2 separate regions of the Homo sapiens genome follow, and region 2 is linked to region 1. Evidence: promoter capture Hi-C in 16 types of primary human blood cells and fetal thymus (Javierre and others, 2016). All regions are on one chromosome and are shown on one strand. Each heading gives the region's core, a stretch centred on a gene start or on the middle of the fragment in contact. The rest is flanking DNA. Distances are from core to core; before and after follow the strand shown.

Region 1 (3,674 bases), core at 307-2,806:
TGATTTTCTGCGAGCTTTATTTCCAACTCAACTGAGAGAAGACAATTTCTTTAAATAGCAAAAACCAGGAAAGATTGAGATCTAAGAACAACAACAACAAATGGTCCCCAGAAGAGAAATATCAACGCTCTGTGCTGTGGAAAATGTTAGTTGTCCACAGTGAGAATCTAATTTCAGAGGGAGTGAGATTAAGTGAACAGCTCTCCCGTTTCCTAGGTCTGACGTAGATGCCCGAACATTCAGTGACTCACCTTAACTTTAGTTTGTGGTGGAAGCAGAGAGACGTTCCATTCTTCCCACTTAAAAGGCAACTTCATCTTTACCATCCTAAAAAAAAAGACGAGAGGTCTTCTGGGAAAACATTTGTAGACAAAAGTATTTTACACTGGGCCACAGAAAGAGGTGAAAAGGAAACACAGGCTGCAGGGCAGAGAATGGAAGAGAGGAAAGGTGAGAGGAGAGGAGGGCTCACTCTAGACATCCATCGGTGGCAAAATCATGAAAGAATTGAGGCCCTGGTGCGGCCACAAGCCTCTGATTTTATTTCCATTAAAAGAAGAAAAAAAGGCCGGGTGCGGTGGCTCATGCCTGTAATTCTAGCACTTTGGGAGGCCGAGGCGGGTGGATTACCTGAGGCCAGGAGTTCGAGGCCAGCCTGGTCAACATGGTGAAACCCCGTATCTACCAAAAGTACAATAATCAGCTGGGCTTGGTGGCAGGTGCCTGTAATCCCAGCCACTCAGGAGGCTAAGGCAGGAGAATTGCTTGAACCCAAGAGGCAGAGGTTGCAGTGAGCCGAGATCATGCCACTGCACTCCAGCCTGGGCGACAAGAGCGAAACTCCATCTCAAAAACAAGGAGGAGGAGGAGGAGGGAGGAGGAGGAGGGAGGAGAAACGTAAAATGGCTTGCCTAGCCAAGGAAAAAGAAAAACAGCCATCAAACCAAGGCAGTAAGTGCCAGGATATAGGAGACAGATGAAGCTTGAGAGACCCTTATCCGGTCCATCTGCGCTGCCTAAAGAAGAATTTAGCAATTTAGTGCACCAACTTTTACAAGAAGTGTCCAAGGAATTACATTATTTGAAACCAGAGGCGAACATAATTATGATAGCCATTTGTGCGTGTGGTTAAACACACACCATGTTAAAAATCATGCCACTGATAGAACTCCCACACACAAATAGTGCTTAATCCTTTTTTTCATTAATGATTTGTAAATTGTTGAAAAATTGTATACTCGATGAAGGACTCTGGCAGTGCTGTTTTTAAATAAATGATGTGGCACTGACCATGATCTTCTGTAAGATGATAAAACTGTTGGAACAGCGACAGCCTGCCACAGATGATGTCTTCATGTCGCACCTGTGTTGCGCGGGTTGCTGGTCCCTGAGAAGCTTTGCTCTTAGGATTTTCCACTCACCCTGTCACCTGTCAGCCTCGCCTTGATCCCTCACCCCCGACTCTGGTGTGGCAGCCTCAGTGACTGAGCTCCTCCGCCCCCCTCCTCAGCAGGGCTGACTTTCCCTTTAGCTTGGGAGGCTCAGCATTTCTGTTTAGCCTGCCGCGATGGCAGCGCAGCATTTATGCCGGAGGGGCAGTGAGAGCGTCAGGCAACCAGCTAACACTGCTTATTTTGTCTGCCTATGGGCTTCATGTGAGTTGCCTGCCTTCTTTTCCAAACCCCTCGGGGCTTGCTGTCTTCCGAGGCCTTGTAAATGGGAAGTATTCAAGCCCATGTGTATGAACTGATATCGTTGTCACCCCCCTTTCATGACTCGCTTCTATTTTCAGGGACCTCAAGAAGAACCAAATTCTTTGGTACTTTCCCCGGAAACTACGTCAAGAGGCTGTGAATTGCGCTCCCTCCTTCTGTAGAGGCCGCCTGCCAGCCATGCACCTGCGTCAACGCGCCTGAAACACCCCGCGGGCCTCCCGTTGTCATGCCTTACGGTTTCCAATGCGCCGTCACCATCTCCACCTGCCACCAAACCACCAGCAGAGTAGCCGCCGCTGCTGTGAGCCTGGGGACGACATGGCAGGCTGGTCCCCCTCCGTGAAAGTGTGGATTCCTACTTCCTGCTCTAAGCTTTGACACGTCAAAATGTGGGATCAGAAAGAAAAAAATCATGATATTTAAAAATGGTCAAATATTTGAGGCAAAAAAAAAAAAAAAAAGTGTCTCCAGGAGGCTGTCCAGCCTCGTGGCTCCATTTCAACATCTCCCCCCAGGCGATGTTCTCCCCCAAGACGACCAGAAAATTGTTTATTGGGGAATGCTGTGGTTTGCATTTTCATATTCTTCGCTTGGCAGTGTGTATTCTTTTCACAAGTTTGCCTAGTGTCTTGGTTTACACAATATGACAACTGTAACTGTACTTTAGCTATTGTTTGCCTGCACATACATGTTGTAATATGCACAGTGATTACAACCTTTAAAGCAAGAGGAGGCGAGTTAATTTGGATGAGTGTGATTTTGCTGATTGAATGTGAGTTTTCAAATAGGAGTCTTTTTCTGCAATTTGTTTGCATTTTTTAGAAGTGCAAACAGTAAGTAAATAAAAGCCTTCGGTAATAATCATGACAATACAAGAGGCTGAGCTAGGCTACAGGGGAAAACTATTGTGTTGTAAAGTTGCATCGCTATTTTATATTAAAATGTAATGATCAGCATCATGAACAATGAGCTCTTAGTGTTTTATTTATCTGAAAAAATGTAAGTAAAAGCAGTGTTAGTGAGAGGTGCAAAGAATTATTCTAACAGACACCTGAAAGTATCTGTAAGCAATACTAGTAGGTAAGATTTCACTGTGTGTACACATACACATTTGAGATTGTATGAGAACATATAATCCATATGATATGTTGTACATTTTATGGAAATGTAATAGAATCTCACACATTATTTTATAGAAATAGAGTACAGAAGCATCACAAGTATTAAAGTTGGTTTTAGCAAGGATTAGGATTACTACAATTATTTTTACTATAATAATTATTTTTCTTCTATGGAACTCAGAATCCTGGCTACATTTGAGGACAGGAATATGTTGAGCCTGATTTTCCTGGTGTGTGTAAAATATTTCCTAGGAATAAATTAGGCACTTTTTAGAAGCAATGTTAAATCATTCAGGTTTTATTTTCTGCCCTGAAGCAGAAATTTAAAAAATGATATTGGGACCTGGAAGGTTTAATATGGTTCACAGTGCCTGAATTACACCTGCTCCGAAAACTAGCTTTGTATTTCTTATGACTTTGCATAAGAACTGTTCATCTTTGGATCTTGAGCACCTTACAGATAAAACTTTTTATGGCATCTCTTTCATGGACAGTGATATTGATCTTTTCACAATGTACGTAGCCTCTAGAATTTTGTACATATGTTTGCTCTTTTTTTGTACAGACTAGTTGTTGAGAAAACAGGGGCGTTTCCTAATTTGGTCTTTATCCTGCGACAACACTTTCAGCAGACTAGCCTCTCCTTATCTCACAGATCACAAGCACCCCTAGATAGTGTGATTCTGTCAGATAGCATTTATGCAAAAATCTATGAAGTTAAAAGATCGTAGAAGCCAAATGAAATGTACATATCTACTGACTGATGACAAGGGAATTTCATTAGGAAGAAGGTAAAGAAACATCGTTGAGTAGCCTACCTTGATTTCTGTCAAGTTCA
Region 2 (3,674 bases), core at 648-3,147, 550 kb after region 1:
TCTTACATTGGAATAGACCTGAGGCCTGGGACTGAGCTCGGGGAAAACAGGCTGAACCATTCTCCTGACCCGCTTTGGTTCCGCTGTTCGCACTGCCCGAACTTGGTGAAAGGAGATTCCATCAGCCCCGTGTGGCTTGCACAAGCCCTGCTTTGTAGTTAGGGCTGAACCTTCCTCTTGCTGGAAGTGTTTACTTGCTGTGTTTCATCATCTTGTCCACCTGTCCTTCAGAATCTCTTGAAAACGGGTGGTCTAAAGGGTTAGGGTATTCCCATTTGTCATATCATTTCTTAGCATACCCAACATCTCAACATTTGTCATCATCAGTGAACACCCAGTTAGACATAACTTACTTCAAGACCTTTTAACTCAACAGAATAAATATTTCATCCACTCTTATAGTGAATGATAAAATGCCTTGGGGGCCAGAGTGAAAGGCAATGTCCCGACCTATCCCTCCCAAAGGGAGGGGGTGAGTGGGGAAAGACCCCTGTGCTCTTCCAGAGGCCACAACAACTTTGAACTTATGAGTCCTTTTCTGAACCTCAGTTCCATAATGACAAGGGAATTTGGCAAGCACATCCTTGGATCCGAATCCTGACCACTGGAGAATCATTCTGCATAGCCCTCTTACCTGTGTATGGCGAGAGCCAACAGTGCGGGAATGAATAGCTGGGATTACCATTGTGTCTGTTATTCTACTGGTGGTTGGTATGGTCAATAATAAGGACTTCTAGCACATGAGAAGAGCCTAACAGAGGCCATCTTTGTCAGATACTGTATATGTTACTGAGCTATATGCCAGGAGGAGATAGCCATCAACCCAGAAAGTGTGGGACTTACTAGACTTGTAAATTTTAGGGCTACTCTTCCTTCCTGTGAATTTACTACTTGTTTTATTAAGTCTTTGTTTATGTTGCTGTCAAGTGAGTTTCTATCACCAAGGGACATTTCAAATTCCATCAGCTCTCCCCTCACTACCATATTCTTTGAAGGGCTTAGCTATATACTGGTATGACCTATCTAGTTCTAAAATTAGGGAGCAATCTAGGCCCCTTAAGCATGTAGATCCTTTATGTTTCATGTAGTTTAATAGAACTACTGGGGGTGGATGCTTGTGTTGCCAGAGTACTTTTTCTTTCTTTCTTTCTTTCTTTTTTTGAGACAAGATCTCACTCTGTCGCCCAGGCTGGAGCACAGTGGTGCCATCATGGCTCACTGCAGCTCAACGTCCTGGGCGCAAGTGACCCTCCTGCCTCAGCCTTCCAAATAGCTGGGACTACAGGCACAAGCCACCACACCCAGCTAAGTTTTGTGTTTTTGTAGAGATGGGGTTTCTCCATGTTGCCCAGGCTGGTCTTGAACTCCTGGGCTCAAGTGATCTGCCCACCTCTGCCTCCCAAAGTGCTGGGATTACAGGCTTGAGCCACTGCACCTGGCCAGAGTTCTAATTGTTAGCTCTTGGGAGAAAACTAAGAATCATCTAACTGAAACCCCTCATTTTATTGAAGAGGAAATCAAGTCCCAGCAAACTGGCATGACTTAGCTTTACTTAACTCATTGTGACACTTAGTTGGATCAACATTACAGAAAAAGGAACACATAATATCTAATTTTTGCCCAGTATATTGATATGAAATACATCCTACAGCTATGTTGACTTCTTGGGTTGTTCTAAATTCTTCAAGATCACTGTAATTTGGAGTTTCTGGTAATTTTAATATTTTATGTAATTCACATAAAAATTGGAACCTAATACTCAGATTCCTCTTATTAAAACTGAATTAAATCAGTATTTAGAAAATAAGTAAAGCTTCCTTTATTCTTTTTTTCTTCAAAAGTTACTTAAGATAAATAAAAATTTGGTTTCCAAACACTATCAGGCAGTAGAAAAAAGAATTTGAAGATCTAGATGAAAGGAACTTCAGATGCCTCCTCCAGGAATATATGTACTTCCTTTTAAAGAGGTAAGAAAGCTTACATCGTTTAAAGAGTTTTTTTTAAGGTAATATGTTGTACTGTCCTTCTTTACTACAGTTTTTCTTTGAAAATATATGCTTTTCTAACGAATAAATTATAATATAGTTTGGGAGAACAAATAGATAATTTTTAAGGAAAATTAAATATCATAATTTATAATTATGCATAATTTATGCATGTATTCATTTGATGGAGTTTATTGAAAACACTTTATTATTTTTCAATTTGCTTTTCTATAAAGTCCTTGAAAAAGTGTTCAGACATAGAAAAGTCAATGGCATAAAACAGAGCTAGTAGCTTATTTCTACATAGTCACATATTTATCCTAGTTCCTTTCACGATTCCACGTCTCATTGTTCCATTACAAGTAGGACTCACAATATTTTAAAGGTCATCCTCATGTCATCCTGAAGTGACATGAGGAGAGAGCTGTATTCTTTGGGAAACACTGATCACAAACCAAGAAAAGGCCCTGAACTTCAGGGAATTTGTAAGACATTGCGGCCACTCACCAAAATCTGTTTTCCCAATGCCAAAAATGAGCCCCTCTAGGAGAGGTGACAGCTGTTTCAAGATGCGTTCTCAGACGCTCATCTGTGATTCAGACATACTTGTAGATAGAGGAGGAGCAAAGGTAAGACCTCACATCCCACCCTAGCCCTGGCAAGCCCATCAGCAGCCCGAGTCCCTGTGTGTGGTTATCCACGGCTTCACAGCTTAGCTTTCTGTTAGGCCTCAGAATGAGAGCTGTTGATGACTCATTAATGCTAACCATTGATTCCTGTGTCCCGGGTTAAGACTCAAAGGACAACATGGCAAGCAAGACCAGTGTCCCTTGTGATTTCTCCCCAGTAGGAAATACTCTTCTGTTCCTCTGTGGCCACTCTGTCCTCACAGGGAGTGACTTCTTACCCTGTCCCGAAAACTCACAATATAGACCCTGGACCCCTCATTCTTTCTCCTCAGTGACAAAGGTCTATAGTTCATGTATTTTAAAAACTACTCTGTGGTTTATAACCTAATTTTTAAAGTACTATTTAAGTTGTTCTCCAAAAGAATTTCACTGAATATTTAAAAACACGTTTGGAAAACTTAAGCACTATAGTTTTAAGCCAGCTGTCTAGGAATTTAGTTTGGACACATGAGAAAGATGGTCAAGAATCAAGAGCAGCGATGGGGTCTTGGGTACCCACGGCTACGCTGGACTGTTAAGGTAGTAAGGATAGTCTGAGAGGTGGCTTCAGAGGTCTGGATTAAGTGTTAGTTTGTCAGTCCTTTATTATAAAATGGATTGTGTCCATTTTCACCTCTCATTAGAAGGCGCGTGCATGTGTGTTTGTGTGTGTGTGCACGCGCTCACTCGCACTTCCTTTTCCCTTTGAATTTCTCCTTGGTGCTGTTAAGTGTATACTTAATGCAATGTTTTTGGAGGTGGTGGGGTGGCGAGTAATAGCTGCCTTAAAAACCTCATGAGCTCCCCCTGCTGTTTTGCAGCTGACAATACAAGTCCCTTCTATTTTAATTCCCAGAAGCACAGAAGAGTGAAAGAGAATCCCTCGTGGGTTTGTTTGATCTACGAGGCAGATGAATACTTGTCAGCTTTCTCCTGAAGGTTTACGAAATCATAGAGGAAAGGGAGAGTTAGCATTTGATCTGGGCTATCACTTAACTTAGGGCACCGGAGCTGTCCCCCT

The links. Contacts are between HindIII fragments. The CHiCAGO score rates a contact against its expected background, and 5 or more counts as called.
Region 2: a contact is called between a fragment that was not itself captured here and the fragment with the promoter of SORBS2-AS1 in region 1, in 2 of 17 cell types (total B cells and naive B cells). The highest score is 8.8, in total B cells.

Annotation. Positions count from the first base shown.
Region 1 is chr4:185,585,807-185,589,480 of GRCh38, reverse strand. SORBS2-AS1 (SORBS2 antisense RNA 1) reads right to left here and starts at 1,556. Exons shown (of 4, transcript NR_186082.1): 1 at 1,291-1,556; 2 at 252-327. It overlaps SORBS2 (sorbin and SH3 domain containing 2), which reads left to right. Exons shown (of 27, transcript NM_001395207.1): 27 at 1,793-3,674. The coding sequence ends at 1,854. RefSeq lists enhancers at 1,902-1,981, 1,260-2,459. The HindIII fragment of the contact is 692 bases long and covers 1,398-2,089 here.
Region 2 is chr4:185,039,745-185,043,418 of GRCh38, reverse strand. No RefSeq gene overlaps it. Among named protein-coding and RNA genes, the nearest start is that of LINC02436, 10 kb to the left of the region's middle. The HindIII fragment of the contact is 163 bases long and covers 1,816-1,978 here.